Regions from separate parts of the Homo sapiens genome. Here region 2 is linked to region 1. Evidence: promoter capture Hi-C in human tissues and cell types (Jung and others, 2019). All regions are on one chromosome and are shown on one strand. The core of a region is centred on a gene start or on the middle of the fragment in contact, and the rest is flanking DNA. Distances in the headings are between cores, read along the strand shown.

Region 1 (7,293 bases), core at 3,067-5,566:
AAATAAAATATAATCTTTTCCTTTGTGCTAGGGTCCCACCTAAGTTTATTCACACATATGATGAGCAGTAACTGCCTGAAGATGCAAGGAGTTGATTCCCACTCCCCACTTCCCCCGCTTAATACAGTGTTGTCAGTGCTTAACTGTCCTAGGCTGACCATGGTCCATGGGTTGTTTAGAGTCACTGCCTGCCTTTCTTACCTGCATTCAGCCTGCTGGTGGACTGCTGTTTCCTAACACCTCTGTACCAATGGGGACGATGTTGAAATTAACCATCAAAACTGTTTCTCTCGATGACAGAGGCAATGTCTTAGTGCCTTCTTTATCCCCAGCTACTAGCACAGAAGGAATCTGCCACACAGAAGATGCTCAATAAATACCAAGTTTAATTAAAGTAGGAGTGCACAGCTAGTGGGCTTGGGAGCCATTTAAACCTAGATACCTGGATTTGAATGCCGGCTCAGCTGTTTACTAGCTGTGAGGCTTTAAGCAAATCACTTAACTTCTGTGTCTTGTTTTCTTCACATGTAAAAGGGGATCCTTACTAAAATTATAGGTTAAGATAATGTATATAAACCACCTAGCATGATGCCTGCTGAATAGATCATTCTTGAATAAAGCTGTGTATTTTCCCTGTTTTATAAACTTAATAAGCTGTATCAAGGCAAATAAGAAGCTTGTCTCAAAAGTAAATACAGGCTGGGCATGGTGACTCCTGCCTGTAATCCCAACACTTTGGGAGGCCAAGGCAGGTGGATCACTTGAGGCTAGGAGTTCAAGACCAGCCTGGCCAACATGGTGAAACCCTGACTCTACTAAAAATACAAAAATTAGCTGGCTGTGGTGGTGCACACCTGTAATCCCAGCTACTAGGGAGGCTGAGGCAGGAGAATCACTTGAATCCGGGAGGCGGAGGTTGTAGTGAGCCAAGATTGTGCCACTGCGCTCCAGCCTGGGCCACAGAGCAAGACTCCATCTCAAAAAAAAAAAGAAAAAAAGTAAATACAGTATTCTGCTTTAGAACTAGGACCTATCTTCAGTTTTATTTTTTCCTCAAATATATAAAGCCGGGCATTTTCACTAATCCTGCATTTCTGCTTATTTTCAGGGACATATTTGGAGAAGACTGTGTAAGTGTAAAGGATGACTCTATTCTTAGCGTCACAGTGGACGGGAAAACTGCCAACCTTAACTTGGAGACACGGGTATGTAGCTGCTCTTTCCTACGTTTCAAGACATTTGGGAAATAAAGTGAAGGCATAAATAATCTGTGCTCTCACACTCAACAGTCTACTGTTGCATATTGGCATTTGCTTCCAGTGTTTCCAACATTTTTTTCACATTGTTCTTTTTATATTATTATGGTTGAAGTTTTCCGTGTTTTTCCGGGTTACTGCATAGTACAAGGTTCGCGTGTATGCCACTCCATTGCTGTCCTCTTCCATAATACAGCTTAGTTCACCTCATCCCTTCTCTAGTTTGGCATCTAGTTGACTCTCCATTTTTTAAAGAAGCCGCTCTTCTGTTTGCACCAGCAAGATCCAAGTGGATTTTCCAAACAGTTCAAAACCAGCCCGGGCAACACAGTTAAACCCCATCTCTACTAAAAAATACAAAAAAAATTAGCCGGGAATGGCGGCAGCTGCCTGTAGTCCCAGCTACTCAGGAGGCTGAGGCAGGAGAATTGCTTGAAACAGGGAGGCAGAGGTTGCAGTGAGCCAAGATCACATTACTGCACTCCAGCCTGGATGATAGAGCGAGACTCTGTCTCCAAAAAAAAAAAAAAAAAGAACTAGAGGCCAGGCGTGGTGGTTCACGCCTGTAATCCCAACACTTTGGGAGGTCAAGGTGGGTGGATCATCTGAGGTCAAGAGTTTGAGACCAGCCTGGCCAACATGATGAAACCCCATCTCTACTAAAAATACAAAAATTACCCAGGCGTGGTGGTGTGCCTGTAATCCCAGCTACTTGGGAGGCTAAGGCAGGAGAACCCAGGAATCACCTTAACCCAAGAGACAGAGGTTGCAGTGAGCTGAGATCACATCACTGCACTCCAGCCTGGGCGACAGAGCGAGATTCTGTCTCAAAAAAAAAAAAAAAAAGAAGCAACTAGAAGATTATTAGTGAGTTTCAGTCAAATTCAGTACCAAATGTTGAGTAGATAGCCACATCCATTCCTTGCCAAGTAATTTGTGTGGCATAGATGAACTTCCCTGGAGTATCATTTACTAGATCAAACTGTGGGCTTTGATGTAAATGTAGTTTACTAGACTTTCCCCAGTCTTTCACCCCAGCCTCAAGTCATCACTAATTAGGACCGTGCTGCTGTCAGGAAGCACTGCACGCCCACAAGTGTGTAGGGCGGCCGTTCTGTTTCATGGTAATCAGTCCCACCATGACCTCTGCACACACAGATGATTGTTCTTTTTTTTAGTTTGAGACCCGGTCTCGCAGTGCCGCCCAGGCTGGAGTGCAGTGGTGCAGTCACAGCTCACTGCAGCCTCAACCTTCCCGGCTCAGTGATCCTCCCACCTCAGACTCTTATCTGGGACCACAGGCACACGCCACCACAGCTGGCTAATTTTTTATGAGATGATGGTTTTTTTAAAGAGTATTCATTTATCTTCTATATAATCATTATAGACTTAATTCTAACAGTCTTGTTTGTGCCTCACTTTCAGACTGTAGAATGTGAAGAGGGAAGTGAAGACGATGAATCCCTCCGAGAAATGGTGGAGCTGGCTGCACAGAGACTGTACGAGGCCCTGACGCCAGTTCACTGAGACTGTGCCTGTATATGAACTTTGAAAAAATACTTGACTCTACTTTTGTTACCTAAAATAAAATGCATTCGTTTCTCTGGGGGAGCCTGTTTACTTTTAATGTCAAATGGCCTTTATTTCAACAGCCTGAATACTGCTAAATTGCTAATTAATTTGTCCATTATTCTAGAACTAACTACTAGATCAACTGCCCATTATTTTAGAATTTTGGATTCTTCTTCCAGGCATGTATGTGCAGCTCCCATTGAAACCATCAAGATCTGCCGATAGCAACCGCTGCTGGTTACCCTCTCCTCTGGGGTAACCAATTTGAGTTAATAATAAGGATTCTAAGTTGCACTTGAATCTTTTCTGTCTTCATCTCCACTGCTGCTGTTCGAGTCCAAGTCTACTCTCCCCTCTGAATTCCTGCAACCACCTCCATCTCCTCCCCTATAGCTGATTCCTGGAACAGACCTGGCCTCAAGCCTCTGCTGCTTGAAGGCCTTAATGAAGTCCTTGTGATAAAGATGAAGTCCAGGCACCTTTGCTTGCTCTAGCAGGGGCTCTCAATCTGGGCTACCCGTGGGAATCACGTGGGGTGCATCACAAGTGCACCTGTGCCCAAGTCCTGCCACCAGGAGGTGAGTTAGTCCGGCTGGAATGAGGGCCCTAGGTTGGATCTTAGTTGTAAAGCTCCCCCAGGTGATCCAAGCGAGCTTGGGACGAGCAACCTAAAGAAAGTCATGCTCTACGCCCATCGCCCCGCCCCAGGGAGCGGGGTCGGCCTCTGCGCCGGCGCCCCTGGCCCTTCTGTTACTCATCTACAGCTCCGTGATTTCAAGGCATCCTTCCCACCCGTTCGTTTTTAGCTCGGCTGCCGAACTTCATTGCACAGTTGAGGTAAGAACGTTGCATTACAACCACGTTTTAACAGGTGAATCCCTTGGAAGTTAGTCAGTGCTCCGTGTCCGCGGGGTTCTGCATCTGCGCATCCACCCCACGGCGGGAAAAAGAAAAGCGGCCGGCTGCGCGCGCACTGAAGGTGCAGCTGCTTTCCCTTGTCATTCGCAGAACCACGAGGTACTGCCAGGGTTTCCGCAGTGCCTGCGTCCTCGTGGGTGTTACAGGCCCTCCAGAGTGACGCTGGGCGCAGGAGGCCGCGCGCGCATCCCACGACCTCTTCCAGGGGGGCCTGGAGCAGCCCTCCGCCCCACCGAGAGCCAGCTGTGCTTCCCGCCGCGCGTCCTGAGGTCACACTCCTGCCCTTTGCCGAACGCACCTGCGCCCGCGGAGCGCGGGGTGGGCTTAGAAGGGCCCCCAACCGCTTTTCTTCCGGGAACCACGCAGCGGGACGCGGGCTCCGGACTCCCTGGGGGCAGCCTTGCTGTGGGTGAGCAAGCGCGGAGGCCGAGCTTCTTGCAAACGGACTCCAAGGGGCAACGACCTTCGCGCGTCACCAAAGTGACTGCGTGGGTGCCCACGAGCCCGGCTCCCGCAACCCACGGGCGGCCACTGCGCAGGCGCCTCTCGTGGCTGGCGGCCCCGCCCCGCCCCGCCCGGCTGCTCCATGGCGCTGTGCGAGGCCGCGGGCTGCGGGAGTGCCCTGCTCTGGCCTCGCTTGTTGCTCTTCGGGGACTCCATCACCCAGGTACGGCCGCCCCGACGCTCGGCCTCCCGCCCCGGCCTCCCTGCGGGGTCGCTGCCGAGCAGGCCGAGGCTCCTCGCCGTCCTCTTCGGCGCCCGAGACGGCTGGGCCGGAGGCCTGGCCACGCCCGTGGAGACACCGGAGGAGTGGCGGGTCCCCCAGTGGCTGCGCCTTCCGGGCCCGCGGCGTCCCGGAGGTCACGACGGCGTCCGCGAGAGCCCGGGCTCCAGGCACAGACGCGAGGGGACCCGGCCGCGCTGCCCGCCCCGCGCCGCCTCCCACCCGGGTCGAGATGCGCGGTCTTCCCCTCAGCGCCCTCCTGGGCAGCGGCCTTTCCCCTCCGGGTCCGGGTTAGCGGCCGCGGGCGACCGCGCGCTGTGTCCCAGGAGGCCCCGCGGCCAGCTCCGGGCAGAGGCGCCAGGAGCTCTCTCGCCCCATTCCCTGCGGGCACAGGTGGGGCCGTTAGGGGTTGACCTTGGAAGTAAAACGCCTTCAGGAATTAGGTAGAAAAGGACCATCCGTTCATCCAAGATCATCTCACCTCCCATGAAGGGAACGGTCTTCTAAATGCAGGTTCTTACTTCGGGGAGGGAGTAGAAATTCCATTCCTGTGTGTGTCCTCTTCTCAGACAGGACTTGCTTCACCAGGCTTTTGTGTATACGCCAGTAACTGGTAACATTATGTTTAGGCATATGGGGCAGTCAGAGCTGCCGAATTCCATGGGAATGTGTATGAAAAAGTGTTCACCCTCAGCTCGGTAACCAGCAAAGCAGTGAGGCGGTGTGGCCTTCATTTCCTCACTGACCTTTGACTTTATTTCCTGAACTTAGATTTCTGTTTAGCTTTTTTTTTTTTTTCTTTTTTTCTTTTTTTGAGACGGAGTCTCGCTCTGTCGCCCAGACTGGAGTGCAGTAGCGCGATCTCGGCTCACTGCAAGCTCCGCCTCCCGGATTCAAGCGTTTCTCCTGCCTCAGCCTCCCGAGTAGCTGGGATTATAGACGTGCGCCACCACACCGGGCTAATTTTTGTAATTTTAGTAGAGACGGGGTTTCGCCATGTTGACCAGGCTGGTCTCGAACTCGAGACCTCATGTGATCCGCCCGCCTTGGCCTCCCAAAGTGCTGGGAATACAGGCTGTTTAGCTTTTGATAGAGAAAAATCCCCCTCTGCTAAAGTGCTGCCAGGTGTACTTACCTGTAATCCCCAAAATGACCTCCTGGAGTGAAGCAATCAAAGCCAAGAAGGGAGCGCCGAGAAAACAGAAGTTGCCAATCAGAACTGCCCTCGCTGAGATGCCCGGTTACAGTCATTAGTAGTAATAATGGGCTTTTCTTCCTCCAGTTTTCCTTCCAGCAGGGTGGATGGGGAGCATCGCTGGCTGACAGGCTGGTCAGGTGAGAATGGTTTCCGATACTTGAGTTCTTATGGATGGAAAATGTCTTAGGGATCCGTCTTATGGATGAAGGATAGTTCTGAACAGAACATTCCTCCTTTATTAATTTTGCTTGCCTCCCCTAATCAGTATATAGGAGAAGGAACAGAAAACATTTACTCTTCACTCAGTCTGACCAATTAGATATTTTAGGGTTGAGCACTGATGGCTGGGTAGACTCAGACAAATCAAGGAAATGGCCAAGGCCTCTTCCCTAGTCAGGGGCAGACAGATCCAAGTCCAGCTGCTATGACTGCAGAACTTGCAGTTTCACTGCTACACCACACTGGTAGGAAGCTACTTTGCCTTTTTTTGAAGTGCTGCCATGACTTAAGACTCACCTTGTCACAATTCTACCGCACTTTGTTTTGGTTTTTGGTGGTTTTTGTTTTGCGACAGGGTCTCTTGTTAGGCGCGTCCACGTGAAGAGACCACCAAACAGGCTTTGTGTGAGCAACAAGGCTGTTTATTCACTTGGGTGCAAGTGGGCTGAGTCTGAAAAGAGCAAAGGGAGATGGGTAGGGCAGTACTATAGGATTTGGGTAGGTAGTGGAAAATTACAGTTAAAGGTGGTTATCTATTGTTAGCAGGGGAAGGGGGTCACAAGGTGCTCTGTGGGGAGCTCCTGAGACTCATTGTCCAGGGGAGGAATGCCACAAGGTCGATTGATTAGTTAGGGTGGGGCAGGAACAAATCACAATGGTGGAATGTCATCAGTTAAGGCAGGAACTGGCTGTTTCACTCCTTTTGTGGTTCTTCAGTTGCTCCAGGCCACCTGGATGTATACGTGCAGGTAACAGGTTATGACGGCTTAGCTTGGGCTCAGAGGCCTGACAACTCTGTCACACAGGCTTGAGTGCAGCAGTGTGATCAGGGCTCACTGCAGCCTCCACCTCTGGGGCTGAAGGCATCATCACCTCAGCCTCCTGAGTAGCTGGGACCAACAGGCACTCGCTACCACACCCAGCCCAGCACTTCATTAAAGTATTGTGATTTCACTCTGTAAAATGGCTAGTCGCATTTTATAATCATTACACACACAAACAATCTCTTAGAAATAAGGCTGAGTTTCGGTGGTGGTTCTGCAGTTTATAAATGCCACCTGAGAACTTTGAGCAGTGTCAGAAAGTGTCCCCTTGTGCTGCTTTGGAGCCGCTGCCTGACGCTGTGGCCTGCAGTTCTCCGCGGGTGCCCCAGCTTCTCTGCTTGGTTATGCATGTATGGGAATGTGAATACAGCAAAATGAACCATATTGATTTACTAATCATAAGTTGAACCCCAGGCGTCATTTTAAGAAAACTTTATGGACAACTTTAAATATCTACAGAAGCAAAGAGTGAAATGAGCCCATCCATCCCTCCTATGGATTATTCTGAAGCAAATCCCAAATCATATCATTTTACCAAGACTAAGAAAAAAAGAGTCCCTCTTATGTGACTGGTATTCTCTG
Region 2 (7,293 bases), core at 3,013-5,512, 230 kb after region 1:
AAACTCCTGACCTCAGGTGACCCACCCACCTCCACCTCCCAAAGTGTTGGGATATGAGCCACCCGCCCGGCTGCATAATCACTTTTTAATTTTTCAGTGTGGACCCCATCACTGACTTCTCATTCTGGAAGGTGGAAATTAAGCTCATTTTCCACCCTCTGCTACCCCTACACATGTGAATCCTTCAGTCAGGCCGAACCCCTGTTGTCTCTAAGGGATGGTACCACACCGTGTCCAGGAGGCCAAAGAAGAGACCCGGATCCAGTGAACGAAACGTAGGGTTTATTGAGGGCTTACCTACAGGACAGTTCAGGAGTGGCAGCTGGACAGGAGAACTGCTACTGTTTGTAAAAAGCGTGCAGTTTATGTAGCATTTTCACTTAGCAACCTCCACCTAGCAACCTTCATTTAACCCAAAACAAAGGGCTTCTCGATTCCTTGTACAACCTGTGTTCAAAGGAACGGACCAGGGGTTCAGATGCCATTTATAGATAAGGAGGGAATTTTCAGGTTGGCCACTCCAAGATTCCTTAGCTCAGAATGCAGAACACACACAGGGTCACTCTCAGGGTGTGCTTGAGTTATTGCTGTCAGGTGCATCTGCTATACACCTTCCTACACTCTTTCATCCCTATGGAATTATGATATAATTTTGGTTAGATTCATAGCCACCATATGTCATTAAGCCATGGAAATACTTTAGATCAGTTAAAAAATATAGTAAATATCATGACTAGTTTTCCTTCTCTACTCAAATTTTTGTTATCCTTGAAGTTAATAATTGTCTTTTTATGGTTTAATTTTCTGTGTGCTTATCACCAATTCAACTCCAAACTTTTCACCAGTTGTCTCAAGGTCCTCTCGAGACATTCCAATGTACCAGGCACTGCTAGGTTCATCTTCCTGAAATGGTCAGTCTCTCCAGGCACTTTCCTACCTGCGCCCTGTGTCCAGAGCGCACCTGTCATCCCAGCATCTGCCTGTGCCTCATCTAGGGACCACCCTCAGCTGCCTTTCCATGCGGGGGTGCTTGTTTTCTGTGCCCAGTGACTCTTTCTTGGGTTACCCCTCCTTTTAAAGGGGGGCATTCTCTAGAGGTTTCCCGAGAACGGAGTCATTGCAGGTAAGCCTTTTGGGTCCTTGTGTGTCTGAACGTGTCCTGTTCTAACCTCTCCCTGATGAATAGGTTAGCTATTTGTAGCATTCTAGATCATAAACCAGTATCCCTTGAATTCCAAAGTCATTGCTCTCCTATCTTTTAGTTTCCAGGGTTGCTATAGGATATCAAGCCCATTCTGGGCTGGGTGTGGTAGCCTGTAATCCCAGTAGTTTGGGAGGTCAGGGCTGGTGGATCACTTGAGGTGAGGAGTTCAAGACCAGTCTGGGCAACATGGCGATACCCCATCTCTACTAAAAATACAAAAATTAGCTGGGCGTGGTGATGCACACCTATAATCCCAGCTACTCTGGGAAGCTGAGGCATGAGAATCACTTGAACCCGGGAGGTGGAGGTTGCAGGGAGCTGAGATCGCACCTCTGTACTCCAGCCTGGATGACAGAGCGAGACTCTGTTTCAAAAAACAGGAAAAGAAAAAGAAATGAAGCCCATTCTACTTCCTAGCTTTTGGAAAGTGACCTGTTCCCGTCTCTGGAAGCTTGCAGGATCTTCTGTTTGTCCACAGTATTCTGAAATGTCCCAGAGATGAGGTCTGGTGTGTGTCTGAATGCCTAATGAGGAAAGGTGCACTCCGTGGCTCAGTTCTCTAGAGAAGACATTTCCAGTCTCTTCACCGAGGCAAAGACCCAGCTTCAGACCTCAGGTCTGCTATGGGGGCAGTGGTCTGAGCATTCAGCATTCATGTATTCGCTTAAACCTGCCATCTGTGGTGAGAGTGTATGTCCTCAACTGTGCCTGCATCCCCCAATCCCAAGAACCACTTTTACTCTTCTCCTGAGAAGAGACCTCCAATCTTCTCCTGGGGAGGGAAAGGGCAGGTGCTCATGAGTGAAGAGGGGACCTTGGGACTCAACTACTTTTCTGGATCCTTTGAGTCAATCCTCCTTATTTTAGTAACCCGTTTACTTGAGTGCCAGAGGTTCTTGATACTGTTGATTTCTTGAGAATTCCAAGGTGTGCATCTAGTTGGTTCTCAATTTTCTCTAGTGTGGGTTGGAGATTTTGCTTTCTGGGGCCTGCTAAGTCTGTTACCATTCTTCCATCTGCTTGCAAACATCGTGGTCTGCTCTCCTGTTATTTGTGTGTGTGCACGTATGTGTGTGCATGTGTGTGGTTGGATGTATGTCTGTGCATATGTGTGTGTGTGTGTGAATCTGTTTACTATCATTCTGGTGGACTTTTGGGAGGGAGTGAAATGAGATGTTCTGTCTGCCACCTTCCCCAGCAGCCTGGTTTCAATATTATGAACAAAGTCCAAAGGCCTCAGAGCACAGAGTTCACGCCACGAACCACCCAGTGGTTTTTCCATCACAGAGAGATGGTGAGCGCCTTTTCAGGCTGGGGGAAAGAGTTTAGAGAGAGTCTGAAAAGGAAGTAAGTGGGTTGCTATTGTGAGTCCCTGAGAGAAGGGTCAGAAGGCTGGCGAGGGTGAGGGTGGGAGCAGCACAGACCCCAGGTAGGTTGAGCAGGTGCTCTGCACGCTGTCTGGGACTCTGGGAGGAGAGGGCTGTGCAGGGCCTCTGTGCTGTCATGGAGCAGGATGGCAGGGAGACAGGGTGGCATGGTAGGAACAGCAAGATAAGGGCCTGAGAGATCCCTGCTTGCCGAGCGTTCCACAGCTGAGTGTTCCAGAAGACCGAGGGAGGGGACACCAAGAGGAGAAACTAGAAAACCAAGCAGAGTGAGCCCCACCTTAGGCTGAGGCCAGTGAGGGCAGAGGCCAGTGCCGGCATCAACAGGTGGGGACATACACTCTCCAGGGCACCAGATGACCCTCAGGAGAAGAGAAAGGGGACCCAGAGTCATGAAGCCATAAAGTTGTCAGAGCTGGGGGACCTGTAAGAAACATCCAGTATCCCAATTTTTATTTATTTATTTATTTATTTATTTATTTATTTATTGGGATGGAATTTCACTCTTGTTGCCCAGGCTGGAGTGCAGTGGCACAATCTTGGCTCATCGCAACCTCTGCCTCCCAGGTTCAAGCGATTCTACTGTCTCAGCCTCCCAAGTAGCTGGTATCACCCGCCACCACGCCTAGCTAATTTCTGTATTTTTAGTAGAGAAGGGGTTTCACCATGTTGGCCAGGCCGGTCTCGAACTCCTGACCTCAGGTGATCCACCCACCTTGGCCTCCCAAAGTGCTGGGATTACAACAGGCATGAGCCACTGCGCCCGGCCCCAGTGTCCCCATTTTAAAGAGGGGATTCGGGGGTTCAGAGAGGGAAAGAGACTTGTCCCAGGCTGCTTAGTCAGTGCAAGACACTGTTCTTTTTGCGATGTCCCTGAAGAGGGTTGATAGAGTAATGGTTTACTCATCCAGGAGTCCTATCCTTGGACTGACCCGGTTCTGTCTGTCCTGCTCTGTTTGTCTAGATCTTCATCAAAGTTATTTAGCTAAAGCTTATTTTCACCAGTTGCCCCAAGCATACGTCAGTATGGTCACGTGACTATACAAGGAGCTATTCTATATGGACCATAGGGGAGGGGCAGGCGTTCACCAACTGGAGGAGAAAGGACATCTGCAGCAGAAGGTGTTCAAAGGTGTGCACAGAAGTGAGGAGATAACGAACAGTATGTTTGGGGAACATAACTACCTTGGAGCCAGGATCTCACATTGTTCAGCATCCCGAGTGACACACTGAGTGGCCCGGGGCAGAACCGTGTGTTCTCGAGCTGTATGCATCATCATGGGCCCACCTGGGGGGACTTCTGATCTACACTTCTGCAGAGAACGTTCCCTACAGCCACGGACCAAGGCATCTGAAGAAGGCACATGCCTATCTGTGACTGGTTCCACAGTGACTCATCAGGTCTTAAGTTTTTTTAAAAAAGGCTGACTGAGGAGGTTTCCAGACCTGCACTTTTCCAGATGGTTCTGTGGGCTTTGGCCTGAGGTTGGGCTGAACCCTGCTGGAACACGGGCGATTGGAAAGGTTCACCGAAGAGTGAGAACAACTCCAAACCTTCTTCTACCCACCCCTCCAACATGAAAAAGTAAAAAGACTAGGAGAGGAAATGGAAACTCTAGCACTTCTCTTTTGGTGAAACCTTATGAAAATAAGTCAATTTCTTGCCTTTGTGCTTCCTTTGGAAAGACTTTTTAGCCTTTGGAGTCTGATGAAGCTAGGTATGAGTTTGGCCCCACTGCTGTCTGGCTAAGAGATCTTGGACAACTTACTTAACTTTTCTGAGCCTCAATTGTTGGGAGAATTGAGACAATGTAGGTGAAGTGCCTTCTGGGTCTATACTTGAGGTAGGATAGGGTTTAATATCAGTGTTCCTCTTCGTATTCCACTAAGGTAGCTTTTTAGCTTTCTTTGACAAGTCAGTTCTCTAGTTCTCCGTTTTCTCACTTGTAATTAGGACATCGGATTGGACATTCTCTAAGTTCCTCTCAGCGCCAGTATGCTATGACATTTTTTCTAAAATAAGGTTTGTGGACTACTTAGAACAGAATAACTTTAAGTGTGTTTTAAAAACACAGATTCCTGGGTTCCTCTCCAGACCTGCTGAAACTTGCACTTCCCTTGTGCTTCCTCATGCTTGGCAATCTCTGTTCTGTTTTACATCTTATCTACCTTGCCCATCTTTATAACTCAATCTAAAATCTCAATGCTGGGCTAATGGTAGGGCCTCAATATGTCCTTGATTACTACAACTCGCTGCCTAGACTGGGAACTACCTTTGCTGCCATCTTGGTTTCTTCGAGGGTCAGTCCTCTTGTCTTCAATATGTGTAGTGATTCCCCCAAAATAGAAGACAGCTCAGGTCAGAGAAAAAGCCTGGGCATCTATGAGGATGAGTGGGAAATAGGGAGTCTGGAAAAGGAGAGTTTTGGATCATGGACCCTCAGAGGCTCCTTCCCAGTCTGGAATCCTGAGACTCTAGTTTCCACTGAGGGAACTGATTCCACTGTGCTAGTTCACATCACCTCCTCTGTTTGTCAACTCCCAGCTTCCATTTCCAGTTTATTCCTTTCTCTTCATTACTACCTATGTGACAGACTGGTGCTGTGAGATTAGTGTGTTTCATGCGCATCCATTCTTTGTTACATCTTGAGATCTACTCTTATTTGTGCTCGCATAACCCTAGTCTATCCCCCGAACTACTGTCTGGAATCCCTCTGCAGGACCATTTCACAATTTATTTATGCCTTCTCCTATTGATGGTTATGTACATGGTTTCCAGTTCTTCCCTATTACAGACAACACTGTGATCACCCCCTCATACCTGTTGCCTTGTGTACTCAGGTACAAGCATTTATCTAAACACCTAGAAGGAGCCTTGCTGGGTTACACTTGCAGTTTCCCTAGATACTGCTGAATTGCCCTCCAAAATGATGGTGTCAATTTACACTCCCATCCATTGTATATGGGAAGACCCATTTCCCTCAACCTTTCCAACACTTGATGTTGTTAGACTTTGTTTTGCTAATCTGATGGGTGACCGTGGTATCTTGTTGTAATTTGCCTGTTTCTGATTCCTAATTCTGTTGAGTAAACCCATTTGGGTTTCTTCTACTGTAAATTACCTAGTCATATATTTTGCCCATTTGTCTGTTCCTTGTTATTTTATGGGAGTTCTTTAAACATCCTTGATACCAATCCTTTGTCTATCATGTTTTGCATATATTTTCCTCCAATCAATACTTATGTTTTAATTTTGTCTATGGTGTCTTTTATCGGTGACTTTTGAACAGGGGAGTTACACAGGGTTGAATTTTGAAAGACCTCTCTCTTAAACCAGAAGTGTATTGATAGAGCATATATAGATCCACAGAGCAATAAAACAGAGAAAAGACCTGTGCATATATGGGAACTGAGTTTACGATAGAATGGCATCATACATCAGAGAGGAAAGGACATACTATTTGATAAATGGTATTGAAGCAATTAGCTATTTATATGAAGTTTTAAATTCTGATGTGGTCAAATTTGATAATTTTTTTAGCCTATAATTTTTGCTTCTGGTGTCTGATTTAAGTATATTTTGTCTATGCCAATGTCATAAATATTGTCTTCAATGGATGTAGTGATTCCCCCAAAATAGAAGACAGCTCAGGTCAGAGAAAAAGCCTTGTAGTGAAACTACAAGTCTATGCTTGATTTAAATTTTCTTCTAATTATTTTACAGTATTTTTGTCACATTTAGGTCTTGAATTTATTTTTGGATATGGTGTGAGGGAGGGATATAATTATACATTATTTCATATAGATAACTAATTGCTTCAATACCATTTATTGAATAGTATGTCCTTTCCTCTCTGATGTATGACGCCATTCTGTCATAAATCCAGTTCCTATATATGCATGCGTATTTTCCTGAACTCGATTCTGTTTTACTGCTCTGTAGGTCTATATATGCACGATCAATACACTTCTGGTTTAAGAGAGTGGTCTTTCTAAATTCAATCCTGTGTAACTCCTCTGTTAAAAAGTTATCAAAGTGTTCAGTCAAATGGTCCTTTATCATCTAATCCCTGCCTATTTTTGGCCATCTTCTCTCTCCTGTCTTTCCCCAAGTCCCTGTGGCACTATCAAAATCATTTACCCTAGGCTTTATCTCAGTTGATCTACTTGCTGTCCTTCCAACCCATGCTGAGGTTTTGCCTTCCTGCCTTTGTACACATTGTTCTCTCTGCCTGGAATGCCTTTCCTACTCATTTCTTGTCTGATGAAGTTTAACCGAAATGCTTTTTCAACACCTTTCCCAACCCCCCAGTTGGGGTTCTCCTAGGTGCTCCCCAGCACTTTGCTCATCTCTACCATGGCTCTCCAGATGTTCTACTCACCTAATTTAGGACTCTAGTCAGGCTCCTCCACCCGATAGGCTAGGAGAGCTTCCCAAGGGCAGGAGTGCATCTAATACATTTCCATGTCTGCCTTCCCCTAGTCACCCACCCCAGTTGACCTAACTTGTGTCTGGCATGGAGCCAGGCAATAATAGCTGCATCCACTGAATACTGACTATCTGCCATCTACTCTCCTATTTCATACTTATGGCAACCTTTGAATGTGGTAGAATAATTCCCATTCTTCAGATGAGAACATTGAGGCTCAGAGCGGCGATGTAGCCTGCAAGGGCACATAACTGGAAGCATCACAGCTGAGATC

What was found. Contacts are between HindIII fragments. The study calls those that stand out against the background at their distance.
Region 2: a fragment that was not itself captured here is called in contact with the fragment with the promoter of IAH1 in region 1 in 1 of the 25 tissues and cell types used here (aorta).

The regions. Positions count from the first base shown.
Region 1 is chr2:9,470,235-9,477,527 of GRCh38, forward strand. It overlaps IAH1 (isoamyl acetate hydrolyzing esterase 1 (putative)), which reads left to right and starts at 4,317. Exons shown (of 6, transcript NM_001039613.3): 1 at 4,317-4,413; 2 at 5,753-5,805. The coding sequence starts at 4,333. CPSF3 (cleavage and polyadenylation specific factor 3) reads left to right here. Exons shown (of 18, transcript NM_016207.4): 17 at 1,109-1,205; 18 at 2,682-2,867. The coding sequence ends at 2,783. RefSeq lists a silencer at 4,089-4,858 and enhancers at 4,128-4,895, 5,376-5,936. The HindIII fragment of the contact is 18,322 bases long and covers 1-7,293 here.
Region 2 is chr2:9,695,709-9,703,001 of GRCh38, forward strand. The region is part of intron 3 of LOC105373418 (a long non-coding RNA gene); the gene reads left to right. Among named protein-coding and RNA genes, the nearest start is that of YWHAQ, 68 kb to the left of the region's middle. The HindIII fragment of the contact is 7,679 bases long and covers 424-7,293 here.